Linked DNA regions of Homo sapiens: all the other regions are linked to region 1. The links are contacts of gene promoters, found by promoter capture Hi-C in blood cells and fetal thymus (Javierre and others, 2016). All regions are on one chromosome and are shown on one strand. The core of a region is centred on a gene start or on the middle of the fragment in contact, and the rest is flanking DNA. Distances in the headings are between cores, read along the strand shown. Region 1 holds the start of CNMD (chondromodulin). Region 2 has its middle 24 kb from the start of MIR759. Region 3 overlaps SUGT1 (SGT1 assembly cochaperone of MIS12 kinetochore complex).

Region 1 (4,882 bases), core at 662-3,161:
CCAGCCTGGGCGATAGAGCAAGACTCTGTCTCAAAAAAAAAAAAAAAAAAAAAAAAAAAAAGGCAAAATAATGCTGTTGTTCATTCTTCTTACATTTAAGAGAAATTTCTACTTCTTGCTTCACCAACTCTCTGTTTCCATTCTTTGCCATTTTTTCTACTACATTTTTGGTCTTTTGGTTTTCCTAGGAAAACACTATATAAGAAAACTAGTTCCTTGTCTGTGGTATAAGTTGCAAATATTTTTAATCACTCTGTAACCCTTTGCAATGTGTCTTCTGTGCCCAGGGAAGCAAATGGAACTACTCTCTCGCTGGTTCCCATGGCCTCTTGGTTGTGCCCTTCCAAGGCCTTTCTCTGTGCTCATTTTTTTTCAGCATTTGACACTGCTGACCCACCCTTCTTGAATGTGCCTTTAAAATTACATGTACTACTTTATATTGTACCATCTCCCACCTCTCTGACAGTTACTTCTCTTATTCCTTCACCAAAATTCCTGTGAAGAATGCCCTTGTGAAAAGAGGTCTTTGAACTCTGCCTCAGCAGTGCCCCAGGGATGAGCCCTGGCTGGAGATCTTGCTGGAGTTTTTTCCAAGCACCTTAAGTCTAGTGTGATGTGCAGACAGCTGTTTCCATAGCTGATTCCAATGCAGGCTCAGGACATTTCCTTGGCTCTTTTACTTTTCATCCCCACATCAAGCTCAACATGTCTAAAACTGTTTCTTCCAATTTTTTCACTTCCCTAGGGTTCCTATCACTCTCCCAATCCTCCTAGGTCTGAAAACTCAGTTCCCACAGCCCAGGAATTGCCAAGTCCTATCGATTCTTCTGTGAAAGTGGTCTCCTCCACTTCTCCCCTCCTTCCCAGCCCCAGGTCATCATGCTTGTCACCTCATTCTTCATCACATGTCTTGGATGATTCTTCAACACTTTCTCCTTCTGCAGTCCTGCACATGCAATCTCCCGCTGCCCTTTGGGGAAGCCTCAATCCCTCTCATGCACTAGTGCTCCTCACTTACACCTCACCAGAGAGCTCTGCACAAAGCTAGAATCGAACGCAATTTAAGGAAGCCTGGATCCAAATGAAGTACCATGTATCCTGGAACTGGAAGATGGCATTTCCAAAAGTGAAAATTTTATATACATACATACATACACACACACACACACACACACACACACATTTGTGTTATTCCTTTGGATACATCAGTACTCTGTGTGTGTGTGTGTGTGTGTGTGTGTGCTTTGCCATTGTTGCTTTTGTTTGCACTTATTTAATTTATTCAACCAACCAGCATGCACTTTTATTCTGGTCTCCCCAACTCCTTCCCTCCAGCCCTGCTCTGCTTAGCTCTCACTTTTGCTGCAGTTGTACCCAGACCCTAGAAAAACTGGTGGCAAGGAGCCATCCCTAAGACCCTGCTCTGTTTTCCAGTCCCAGGGGCCATCCAGCAATGCCAGGCCAGTGAGAAGGTGGCCTAACCCTTACACTCTTAGGCCAGTGTCCCCTGTCCACCTGCACCACTCTGTTGTCTTCTCCTTCACCTTCCATGAGCCATCTTCCCCCCACCCCCACCCCAACACACACCTACAAAGACCCTGCAGGAAATGGCCTCCAGCCAGTTGTCACAGCAGAGCCCGCTGACATTCTAAGACATCCTCCGGTGCATGGCTAATTGCTCTGGCACTTGAGTATTTCTTTGGGTCCCAGGATTCAGCATCCCGCTCTGAGGGATGCAACCACCCCCACACATTCAGAGTCACCGGGATGCTGTTTGGGGGGCCAGTAGACAGGATAGAGTGAGGAGGAAAGGGGGCATCCGGGAGTGCAGGACGAGCTTCCCGCGGCGGGAGAGAGAAGGGAGGAGAGAGGTGAGGCGCTGGAAGGGGTGGGGACCGCTGGGCTGGCCCAGGCGGGACCGTGCACCGTGTGTGCGCGCGGCGTTGAAATGCCCTGCACGTCGGGGCAGCGGGACAGATCCCAGGGTGCCCAGGGAGTCTCCAAGTGCCTCACTCCTCCCGCCGCAAACATGACAGAGAACTCCGACAAAGTTCCCATTGCCCTGGTGGGACCTGATGACGTGGAATTCTGCAGCCCCCCGGTGAGTACCGCCAGGGATTCCACACGCAGGGCCTGGGTTGTGTGAGTATCAGGTTCCACAGTTCGGACTCAGGGGTGCGTGCCACCGAATGGGTGTGTTGGCGGGGGGATAAATTTGGGTCCCAAATGTGTGGGTGGGATGTCGCCCCACGCGTATGAGTGTGCAGGGGTCACGGCATCCACAGGCGGGTGCGGAGGGACGTCCCGTGGCCGGTAGAGGGTGCAGGTCCTGGGGCGAAGGCCCTGTGCTGCGGGGTTTGCTCATCCCACTTCCACGCCCGACTGCAAAGGACCCTCGGGAGGGAGCGCGGCGAAAGGGGCACCCGTAGGAGCCCGGGCGAGCTGTTTCCCGCCCGACTCCCCACTCCCTGGGGGCTACCGCGTGGGGCCCGGGTGCGCTGGGGGCCGCAGGTGCTGGCGGCACAAACGCGACGGTCCCTCTCCCGCCCCGGCCCGCAGGCGTACGCTACGCTGACGGTGAAGCCCTCCAGCCCCGCGCGGCTGCTCAAGGTGGGAGCCGTGGTCCTCATTTCGGGAGCTGTGCTGCTGCTCTTTGGGGCCATCGGGGCCTTCTACTTCTGGAAGGGGAGCGACAGTCACGTAAGTCCAGAGGGCGGCGCGCGGGGACCCCCGTGTCGCCCATGGTGCCCCTAGGGGGAGCCCGAGCGCGGGCCGGCGAGGGGCGCGCGGCTGCCGGCGGGCCCCTCGGGCCCAGCGTGAGCTCCCCTCTCCCATCCCACTCTGGCACGCGGCTTTCCGCCTTAGGTCAACGTTGTAGAAAAGCAAGTGAAGGTTTCACGGGAGAAGATTGAAGCGTAGAGTAGGGGAGAATGTAGTGGACGGTCCGAGAAAGGCCGTTCTCGGCTCATCTCCCACTAAGCAGTGGCGCGACCGTGGGGAAGGCACGTCACCTTTTGGCCTCAGTGTACTCGTCCTGAAGGGAAAAAATGGAACTGGACGATCTCTAAGGCCTGTCCCTGCTAAGAAAGGCTGTGGGTTTAAAATCCAGGACAAAGATAGTGGAGGAATATTCAGACCCATATTCAGACCCATTGGGAAGGAATTTTTGCCTTTCAGAAGGTTTTTTTGTGACCTAGCCATGAACATTCCCTTCTCTCTCTGGAAAACAAAAACAAAAAACAAACAAACAAACAAAACGTCTAACTTCCTTAAAGGTGGAAAATCTCTTTAACAATTAATTCTGGCCTAGTCATCACATGTGGTTTAATAGTAGGTGTTTTACTAACTGCTGTCCTACTTTCTTTGTATGCAACTATTTATTTTAAAGCTCCACGGCTCTCGAGGAGTATAAAGACTGTTTCTAAGTTGACTGGGCAGAGCTCCAGTGTGTTCTCTAAATACTCTGAAAGTGTTCACCTATGTAAAAGGGGGCATTTTATCTTGATGACCACTGCCAGGTCTGGTATAAGCTTATTTCAACTAATGGAAAAGAATTCCATCTCCAGGGCACACACAAAGGGCTCTTTCATAATCACTATCCTCAGAGGATTGGTGATTGCTGTTTTTTCCTCTCTCCTACCATGAAATGCAAAGCATGAACGAATTCCAGTACTTACAGAAAATGGTGCTGAAAGCAATTCAACCATTTTACACATCACGTCTTCTGCAGTCACTGCATAATTTGTATTTTTAACTCAAATGTCTAATGTAGATAAGCATGCCATTTAGCACCGAGTCTGTTTTAGAGACTATATCAAATTTACAAGCATCGATTTGTAAGATCAGAATTGCACTGTATTTTGTGGGTATTTGAAAAGTGCCTTAATGTATTTGTATTTTAAATATAGAAGCTGGGCCAGATGCTCATGTTTGAAACAGCAAATGTGAATAAGAGAATGATTTCAATATCTACATCTCCATTAATAGCAGGGTTTAGATTGTCATCTCTTTGGGAAATTCTGTGGTTTTAGAATGTAAATGCTATCTTTTAAATAACAAAGCCTCAATGGTATAGGTCAATGGGGGATAACAATAGCTATGCTTTTTTTTGGTAAAGATTCTGGACATGATATATTTTAAAATGAATACCATTTGTCATTTAATTATTCAAGGTAAACATCACTAACTGACAGGCTTCTAAAAAGAGAGATTAAACAATCATACTGAATAAGCACAGCTCCCTTTTTTCATATATTTTACTTTACTGCAAGATGGTTGGTTGTCTGGTTCAGGAGAGCAGTATTAAATGCTAAGAATTCAGAGGAATAGTGAATCACATTTTATTGTCAACAATCAAAATTATTGCTATATCCTATACAGACAGGAGAATGAAGAAAATCATGATAGTTTTTTTCTCCCTGATCCATATGACTTAAGTATGAAAAACAAATCACAAAATACTAAATAGAGTAATTTTTGCACCACCTAGGCATAGCACATGCACAGGTCTGCTTTGCCTGAATACAAATCTAAATAGCTCAGACAAAACGTAATCAAAAAAGGTAAGTCTTTGTCAAACAGAAAGACTTGTCAAACCAAATGGATTATCCACTCTTTGGGGATTATCTGTGCCTCGGCTCCTCTATATTGGTTTATAGAGGAGAACCAGCTGTAATTCACCTCCTATCCTTTTCATGTGGGTAAATCCCCTTAGGACAGGTTTACTGAAATTTAGCTGGAGGACTATGAAGCACTGGAGTAATAATAATCAGGGGACAACTGAACTGGGCTCCAATATTGAGGCCATTTTTCATCCACATTATTGTAAATGGAACAAGGCATTGAAATATGGGAAATTTCCACCAATATGAGATAACTGACA
Region 2 (4,882 bases), core at 1,081-3,580, 47 kb before region 1:
AAATGTAAAATACCAACAGTATCCGACTTCAAACGGGGGCTTAAAATTGGGGTAGTTACTAACAATGAGGATCAAGGAGATGGGAGGAAAAAAACCTAGGTTTAATTACATATTAGATGGTGCCATCACAGCTCTAAGACAAGTCCAATTCTCAGCAAGAGAATCAATTGCCCTCAGGATGGAAACTCAAATCCATAGAGATGTACAGATACTAGCTTTCTTTTAGAGCCAGGTTGGCAATTAGTTATTAGACTAGTTGTAAAGAGCAGAAACTAGGTGGCTAATCTGCAATTTCTTCCTTCCTCTCCTCCTCCTCCTCCCCTTTGCCTTTTTTTCTTCTTCTCCTTCTCTCTCTCTCTCTCTCTCTCCCCTCCCACTCTCCCTCTTTCTCAATATTTTTATTCTTGTTTATAATGGGCTGGACACTGTACTAGGCACTAGGAATATAAAATAAGAAAGACCATCCCTACCCTCAAGGAACTTACAGCCCACTGGGAGAAGAAGACACATAGAAAATCCAAATACAGTGAAGGGAAATTCCAGGCATGCCTGGAGCACCTAACAGCACCAACCTAGTCAGTCAAGAGTCAGATCAGCTCCAGCACCTGGACGGCGCCCGCCTGATGGGGCTTTGGACATCAGGACAAGTTGCCCAGAGTGCCCTGAATGTCCTAGTGAAGTACAGGGCCCTGGGGCTATGAAAGATCTGGGAAGGTGCAGGAGGTGTTCAGTGCCTTCGGCTCAACACCTAAAGTGAGACAGGAGCTGAGCTCAACCTAAAGCAGCTCCTGAATTCCTCATTGTCTCTGCTCAGTAGTGAACCAGGAAACTCCTAGGTGTCTGAGGTATCGGCCTCACTCATACAGGAAGGTGCGAGTTGGCTTTGAGAAACTATAGGGGAAATCTCTCAGATGGCTTCTCTTTTACCTGTAAAGGGAATCTGGAATTCCACCACTGAAATTTCATTTAGAATCTAGAAATCTTGCATCCTTATTAAAGTATAAAGTTCCCTGGAAAGTCCTGCCCTCAATTTATAAGGAGGTCCCAGGTGAAGAGGTGAGCAGCCGAGAGCAATTTCCTGTGAGGCCCCAGGGGGATCAAAGACTCCTGGGAAGAGTCCTTGGGGGAGGAGAGGAAGAGGGCCTGAGTTACTGAGAGCAAGAAATATGCCCTTTAAAGCATAATGAAGCCAAAATGAAAAAAAGGCATTTTTTTCCTTTGTAATTTCAGAAGTGGGCAGCATTTGTAGTTCTCCCCTTATCTCCATCTGAAGCAAATGCAGACACTTAAGCCTCTTGGCTTCAGAGCGTTTCATTCTTTCACCCTGCAGACTGTATGGAGCACCCACTGTGTGCCAGGCTCTGTGCCAGGCTGGGACAGGAGGGGGTGTCAGAGGGCTTCTTCCTGCCCTCCAGTCACTTTGTGTGGCCAGAGCCTCTGGCACTGGGGCCAGGGATCAAAGGTGCCATGGTGGTGGGCAGTGCCCTTCCTGCAGCTGACTTTGCCCAAAGACCACATCCAGTGCCCTGCAGAGAGGGCCGGACCACCACAGGATGCATCAGCAAACAGCACCTTGTCAAAAGGCTTACCTAAAACCCAGTGCCTGCAGGTTAAAAAATAAACCAACAGTTGAAATGAACATTAGAGGAACAACCTGCCGAGCCTCTTAATCTGTCACTTAAATCTAGGGCTTTTAGCTATAATTGAACATCCTACTGTGACTATTATGAAGAGGAGGAGGAAGAGACATTGAAGTTGTGGTTTAGGAGGGTGGAGGAAAATAAATTTTCCTTCAAAACCAGTCAATAACAATGCCTTTGTGTTAAAGGGATGGAGTGCTGGCCCAGTCACTGCAGAGGAAAACAATACAGCCAGTCATGGAAGGCGGCAGCTGACTCACCATGGAGGCTGCCCATTACCCTGTGTGAGTCTAGAGGACCACTGACAGGCCCAAGGACCGGAAAAGCACCACTGACTTCTTCTAAGCTTGAAAAGAAGCCTCCTTGGCAGATGACTATAAGCAGTATCATCCTAACTGCTCAATCCGACTAAAAGAAAGAACAAAGAAAAGAAATGAAAAATAGTGGGGGAGGAGGAGGGAGAGAAGAAAAGAAAAAAAGAAAGAAGAAAAACCCTCCATAGACTATGGCATCAAAAACTCCATTTACAAGCTCTGAGAAGATCACAGGGTACAGGGGTGATTTTGTGAAGAACAAATTCTTTCAGGCTGATCACCACCCAGCCTCCTGGGAGTTCAAGAGGGAGCGATAGCTCCTTGTCTTCTGGAAGGAGAGAGGATCTTCAAAGCATTCTGTCCCCCTGGAAGGGCAGTGTGGTATAAAAACAGGAGGTGGTTGTGGTGCCTGTATTACTATTATTATTTGACAGAATTGTCTTTGAGAGATTGTTCTCCTGCCTAAGAGGGAAATTAGGCTGAGGGAGCGAATTGTTTCTGCAAATTTCTTCTTTAGAGAAATTGGGCTCCTGGGGTATGAAGAGACATAGTGAGGGGGTCTATGGTGGATACCTCAGCAGGCAGACTCATTACATCTTAATCTTTACCGAGAACCAACTGGATGTGTGACCTTGTGAGAGGTTGAGTGGAACTAAATTTGCTGTAACTCTCTTCAGAAAGGATCAAAATGAATAGTGTACTCCTCACATCAAAGCTTTTCCCAAGAGCACCACGCAAGGGCCACTTTCTTGCCCATCTGGAGTCCCTGCCTTTTAAGTGATCAGAACAGATCCTGAAACACTCCCTTCTTCAAGAATCATGGTCAGAGCCAGGGCAAGAGGAGTGGTGACCCGCTTCAACCTTCCTTTGAATAAATGTGAGTCACTCAGAATACTCCTTCAGCTCATCATGCCAGAAATACAATGGTTGATGCCTTGTTCGCAATCTGAATCTTAATTCCTCCCTACTGTAACACCTCTTTGATCCCTTCCTTGTCAGGGGATGAGACACGCGGGAGGAGTGAAAGTGCCATGTAATTTGGGCTTACTCCTTAAAGCACTGAATCATAAAAAATAAACAAGGAGCCTGGTCGTACTACATGCTTTCCTGCTGAAATAAACAGAGGACATTTCATACTTGAAATTTTATGATTCAGGCCATCGTCTTGAATGAGCATTATATTGTGCGTTTGTAATTCACATACAGTGTGTAATAAAAGGCTAAGTAGTGGTGATTTCTGCCTGTCTGGCTGATGCTTTTAATGGAACCTGATTTTTGAAGCATTACATGTTATTAACTACTTTCTGTAAGTCTGCTCAGGACTAACCCTATCAGGGTTAATGAAGGAAGTGTTAAAAAGACATGGCTCAAGGTAAGAAGCTCCATTACAGAGATCAAAAACCATGTCAGTAATTCATTCCCAGCATGGCTGTGAGCAAGGAGACTTGAATAAATGCTCTTTTGTGTAATGAGGGTGGTGGCCATGGCAGGGAGAGGCATCAGTTAGGATTCTTGGTGTGAGCAACAGAAACCAACTCTGGTAACTTGAGCCAGAAAGGGTATTTATGGGAAGAATTCTAAGTGGGTACCAGTGTTTAAGGAAGAGCTGAACAACCAGGTCCCAGAAAGAACTAAGTGAAGGCTGCTCCCATGAACTCAAAAACAGGACTCACGGCCCCCTCTCTAGGATGCTGACATACCATCATTCCACTGCAATCACCTCCAGTGCCTGCGTGTCTCCACTCAAGAGCGGATTCCTGGGAGAGGTGATGGTGATATAATTGGCCCATTTGAGGCCATGAGTCTATCCCTGCACCAAGTAGATGGAATCCTGTATTTGGCAGCCCCATAAAACCCACAAAGAATGAAGAAAGGTTATCTCTCCCAAAGAAAGGAATGTTGAGTGGACAAAAATAACAGATCTCCATTAGAGACAGCCTCACTGACACAAATCTACCCATTTTCACATTCCCTAAAGTCTAGACGCTCCTGGTTTCATCTGAATGTGTCTTCCTATCCCAAGAACTGGCCTATAACCTGTTCTTCCTTCAGAGGTCGTCATAGGCAGAATGTACTCCCCCGCCTGCTCCACAAAAAGGTCCATGCCCTAATTCCCAGAACCTATGAATAGGGGCCTTTGCAGCTGTGATTCAGCTCATGGACTATAAAATACAGCAATTAGCCTGGTTTATCCAGTGGGCCCACATGAGTCAGGGAGATTCAGGACAAGGAAAAGTTGGAGAAATCCTGAGCATGAGAGGAACAAGATGCCCTGCTGCTGGAGAAGGGCCACATGGAAAATACAAGAAGGAATTCAAGTAGCACTGAGGAACAAGGATAAGCCTCTGACAGGCCAGCAGGAAACCAGGGACCCCATCACACAACTGCAAGGAACTTGATTTAGCCAACAACCTGAACGAGCCTAGAGCTGGGTTCAGACGTGGAAATTCCAGAAAGGAACCCAGCCTGGACATCTTAATTTTACCCTCGAAGCAGAGAGCTCAATAAGGCCACACACTCTACTTAAACTTCTCACCCACAGAGCTATGAAATGAAACTTTGTGTTGTTTTAAGCCACTAAATTTGTGATGATTGGTTACAGCAGCAATAAAAAACCAATACAGAGCTCATGTAGAGGTCTCACCCACTATAGCATTAATGCCAGCATCTTATGATTTTCTTGGTGACTCTCTGGGGGGATAATCTCTCTGGGTTTATCAACTTGGCTCTAGTTCTTTTTCTGCATCATCAGCAATAACAACAATAACAAACTTAAAAAACTATTTATTAAGCACCTACCATGTGGTATATCCTTTATAGCAATTATAATTTTTAGTCCTCACCCAAAAAAAAGATTTTACAGATTAAAAAGTCTCCATGCCACTGCATTTTAGAACATGAGGACAGTAATAATGCCTACTTCACTGG
Region 3 (4,882 bases), core at 717-3,216, 45 kb after region 1:
GGGCTTGACATTTTTAAAAAACCCCAATTTTAAACACTATGGTTTGGGATGAGTAACTTCCAATATTTGAGTACATACTATGTGAAAGGCACTACGCTATGTATCAAAGATCCAAAGCTTAAGTAAATAACACTAACTGACCAAGACACACAAGGTAAAACAGACACAGCCGCAACTAACCCTATAACATGTGACACCATGAAGGTGTCATAAATAGAGGCATAAACAAGGCACTCCCACATCACAACTAGAGTGGCAATGCATTTCAGTAGAGGGCATGGAGAGGGGAGTTCCACAAGAGTACTGACATTTTAATTGAGATCTCATAGAATGAATGGAAGAAAATAAGGGCATTCTGTGCAGTGATAAGACCATGAGCAAATCCATCCAATTCTGGGAGCCTGTTCTCTATGTACCAGGTGCTACACATACAAAGATGGAAGCTAGACCGCGCCCTCAAGAAACTCAGTCACACGGGGGAAGAAATGAACCAACTGTAATGTACTGGTCTGACAAACAAGGAATAGATTAGCACTCTCAAGCATGCTCATGACATGTTGTGGTTTTGGTATGACTCCATCAAAGGATCCAGTGATGTCTCAACCATAAGCAAATAACCCAATCCAATGCCACAAAAGTCAGTAACAGAGTTGCAAAAGATTAGACTGCTTTCCTGGAGGTAGCATACAAACTCAGTTTTGACACATCAGTAGGAAACTGGAGATGCCCAGGAGGGGCAGAAAAAGGAATGAAAATACACGACATATTCAGAAACAGCAGATGTCTGAACACTAAAAACAAAGAATATGCAATAGACTGTAAGTGCCCTTTGCAGAAAAAGTTTGACCATGACTAGAAGATTCTTGTGTGTCTGGGAGCTTTAGTACACAGCAAAGCAGTGACAAGAGATGTGGCCAAAAATTTTGGCTGGGGTTGAATTCTGAAAACTCTTGAATAGCAGGTAAATGCCAGACTCACCCTCCTTTGAAGAATTTCAACACTAAACAGGACTGAGGGGAAAAAATAAATCAAGGACTTTACATTTAAGTAGCATTTATTGGTAACATAATTTGAGTCAGGACTTAGTTATTAAATCCTCACAATCCTGAGGGTTAATTATCATCCAGTGTTATAAAAAAGAAAAAAGTTCAGATAAGTCACTTGCCCTCAAAACACACAATTATGAAAGTATCAGAACTGGGATTTTAAGAGTCTAGATTCATAAGTTACTACTCCTTCCATTACAAAACAACACCTGTCTCTGTGGTGAAGTATAATTTTTTAAAGTCAATTGTTTTGAAATAGCAAAATAATAACAATAATAAAGGAAATGCACTCAATTTCTTAAGCATGTTTCATCCCCCACTGGATATATATCCTCAGCCTAAGCTCATTACTTATGAATGTGTTCACTTTCAGTCACTTCAAGCCACAGAAAAAGTTTAGAAAACAGATAATCAGTAAAAAGTGGTAGTTGTGAGAACTCCCAGCTGACAGTGAGCCCATATTAATGTCTACACACTTGTATATGCTCCACACTGATTCATTTGGGGCAAGAATAATAAGATTGATGAATTAACTCATAAAAACATCTACCAGCAGGCTGGGCATGGTGGCTCACGCCTGTAATCCCAGCACTTTGGGAGGCCGAGGCGGGCGGGTCACAAGATCAGGAGATGAGACCATCCTGGCTAACACGGTGAAACTCTTGTCTCTACTAAAAATACAAAAAATTAGCCGGGCATGGTGGCGGACGCCTGTAGTCCCAGCTACTTGGGAGGCTGAGGCATGAGAATGGCGTGAACCGGGAGGCGGAGCTTGCAGTGAGCCAAAATGGCGCCACTGCACTCCAGCCTGGGCGACAGAGCAAGACTCCGTCTCAAAAACAAAAACAAAAACAAACACAAACAAATATCAGCTTCTTTTCACTGATGGGAATAACAAGACAATCTGTGGTTTATAAACTGCGTGATTTTGTACCTTGTATTTTTCACAAATCCTAATAGTTTTACCTTCTGTTTTGAGCTTTGAAATTGAAATGAAAACCAGAGAACTTCCGAAAGTTCCTTAACATTCTACATCTAGTTTATATTTTCTGCCACTATTTTATTTTACGATTCTTTATAAAGTGCTGACAATACTTACATAATTAAGCTCTGTTTAAGTAAAATTATTAAAAACTTTTCATGAATTCTTATGCTCTCCAAAGTACAAATTTTATAAATTACAGTAACAATTGTTAACTAGGTGATATACTTTCCTCAGACAGAATTCCACATCTTGAAAGACTGAACTTACAACACAAAAAAATCTTCTCTAGGATTTCCACCTTCCAGCCTAGGATCATCTGATGTTATCTGTCACATGAAGCACTGCTCTTTGCACTTCACACACATAGATACACAATTCCAAAACCCTCAGATGAGTTTTTGAAGTCAGAATTTTGGATTTTAGAAGATAATGCAATACAGATAGACTATTAATAGTTCCCCTTTATCCATGGTTTTGCTTTCCACAATTTCAGTGACCCACAGTCAACTGCTGTCCAAAAATAACTGTTCACATAAGTTTTATTGCGGTATATTGTATATTCTATTATTAATATCTTACTGTGCCTAATTTATAAACTTTATCATAAGTATACATGTATAAAAAATGTACATACAGCATTCAGTACTGGGGGTCTTGGAATGTATCTGCCACAGTTAAGGGGCAACTGCTGTATTTTGTAACAATTTCAGCAGGATCAGTGCTAGCATTCTATAATTAAACATTTAATATTTCTGCTGCAAAATGTGACTATTCATATTATAAATTCAGGTCACGTTTTATATCACTTGTCATACAGATGCACATGCACACACACACACACACACAAAACATTAGTATTTTGAGCCTTCTGGATTAAGATACCTGTGGAGTTACATGAATTCATTCAACTAAGACCATGAGGCATGAGGGGGATCCTATTATCTCCTTTACATAGACACAAAAACTGAGGCACAGAGACATTAAGCACCTATATCCATTGTCACACAGCTAGTAAGCAATGTAGCCAGGATGATCCCAAACAGGATGGCTTCAGAGTCCATGCATTTAACCACTATGCAATACTGTCTTTTCATGTACTTAACAAAAGCTCTAAATATATATTAATAGTATGCGCAATTGTTTATTATTTAGATCTTCTGTGGCTGCATTATAGGGTACAGTTTTTTAAAAAACCCTATATAGGTATTAAGGACCATTTTCCTAACTCCTTCTAAAGAAACTGAAAATTACCTTTAGGTAAATAGCAGTGTTTCTGAAACATCTTTTTGTATAACTGAATCCTTTAATCATAGGAAAAAATAAAGTCAATGATATAGGTAGAAGTCTCAATGTAAAAATAAAACTAAAAATCCAAATGTGAAGGCATACCAAATATTTAAGACTCCAGACAAGCCAAAATTCAAATATATATATATATACAAAATGCTAACATAAGTTAGGAAAAAGGAAATAACCTGAAATATTCAAATTTTATTGGAGAAATCAGTGATACACAAATCCTAACATGTCTGTAGGAATAAAACCTTGAAACAATCTCAGCATTTGTACAACGGAACTGGTATGAGAGCTCCCAAGTTAAAGGAAAAAAAGAATTTCATTGGCATCATGTACCAGTCTTCTTACACATGCAACAGTTGTTAAAAGTACACTGTTTCTCTGTAATGATCTAGATTTGAGAAAAACAGCACCCTCTCAAAAATCAGACTACTTCTTTGCATTACTTCCAGTATGAGGCAAAAGATTTGGATTCCTAATAAGCTTTCCTACTTAAGAAAGTGAGGATCTCTAGGAATTTATCTTCCCAGCTCCTATATAAGAATTAGTTCTTGGCTGGGCACAGTGGCTCACGCCTATAATCCCAGCATTTTGGGAGGCCAAGGTGGGCGGATCATGAGGTCAGGAGTTCAAGACCAGCCTGACCAACATGGTGAAACCTCGTCTCTACTAAAAATACAAAAATTAGCTGGGCATGGCGGCCCATGCCTGTAATCCCAGCTACTCAGGAGGCTGAGGCAGAAGAATTACTTGAACCTGGGAGGTGGAGGTTGCAGTGAGCCAAGATTGCACCACTGCATTCCTTCCCTGAACGACAGAGTGAGACTGTCTCAAAAAAAAAAAAAAAAAGAATTAGTTCTTTAACTTGAATATTCTCTGCTTCATTTCCAGTCAGCTGATTTGGTAATAAAAATCATTCATTCCACATCTAGCTTATTAACCTGATGAGAGGATTGCAGTTGTCAGAAGTATGGGTAATGGAGTCTGATAGGCCTGGGTTCAAATCCCAGCTATTGCAATTACTTACTAGTAGAGTGACCTGGGCAAAGAACTTTACTTTGGCCCCATCATCTTTCTGATTTGCAATAATGGGATGCTATTGAAGGGCGATTAAAAATGAGATAATGCCACCCAATCCATAAGAAATGCTAGTACACAGTAACTACCACTATTTGCAGTAATGAGTCAGCATTCATTGTATATGATTTTAGCTGATTTGGAGGAGCAACTTTACTAAGGTAGGAAGTGAGGCTAAGAGTTAAATTAATCTCAGAAACCAATCACAAGGATGGCTCCAAATAGTAACATTTGTAGGTAAATCAATATTTTCCCCACAAGTTCCCAAAATAAAATCTCTTGGTGTGTGTAAAATGATCTTACGATTTAAAAAATGCACAGATGGAGAAAGGGAAACCACATCAAAAGAGATGAACCCTTTTATTTAAAACTACATATGACCCTTCCCTGCACAGAAACCAGTATTTTGTCCTTTTAGCTTTTATCATCTAATTCCTCTAGGCAGAAATAACTTAAATCCATACTGTCATATGGTTAC

Evidence for each region. Contacts are between HindIII fragments. The CHiCAGO score rates a contact against its expected background, and 5 or more counts as called.
Region 2: a fragment that was not itself captured here is called in contact with the fragment with the promoter of CNMD in region 1 in 1 of 17 cell types (M2 macrophages); the score reaches 5.3 in M2 macrophages.
Region 3: a fragment that was not itself captured here is called in contact with the fragment with the promoter of CNMD in region 1 in 1 of 17 cell types (M2 macrophages); the score reaches 5.7 in M2 macrophages.

What each region holds. Positions count from the first base shown.
Region 1 is chr13:52,736,849-52,741,730 of GRCh38, reverse strand. It overlaps CNMD (chondromodulin), which reads left to right and starts at 1,911. Exons shown (of 7, transcript NM_007015.3): 1 at 1,911-2,101; 2 at 2,560-2,700. The coding sequence starts at 2,030. RefSeq lists an enhancer at 3,840-4,341. The HindIII fragment of the contact is 4,345 bases long and covers 1-3,532 here.
Region 2 is chr13:52,783,956-52,788,837 of GRCh38, reverse strand. No RefSeq gene overlaps it. Among named protein-coding and RNA genes, the nearest start is that of MIR759, 24 kb to the left of the region's middle. RefSeq lists enhancers at 929-1,444, 1,445-1,961. The HindIII fragment of the contact is 683 bases long and covers 1,989-2,671 here.
Region 3 is chr13:52,691,707-52,696,588 of GRCh38, reverse strand. It overlaps SUGT1 (SGT1 assembly cochaperone of MIS12 kinetochore complex), which reads right to left. Exons shown (of 13, transcript NM_006704.5): 13 at 1-4,882. Among named protein-coding and RNA genes, the nearest start is that of SUGT1, 41 kb to the right of the region's middle. The HindIII fragment of the contact is 3,693 bases long and covers 120-3,812 here.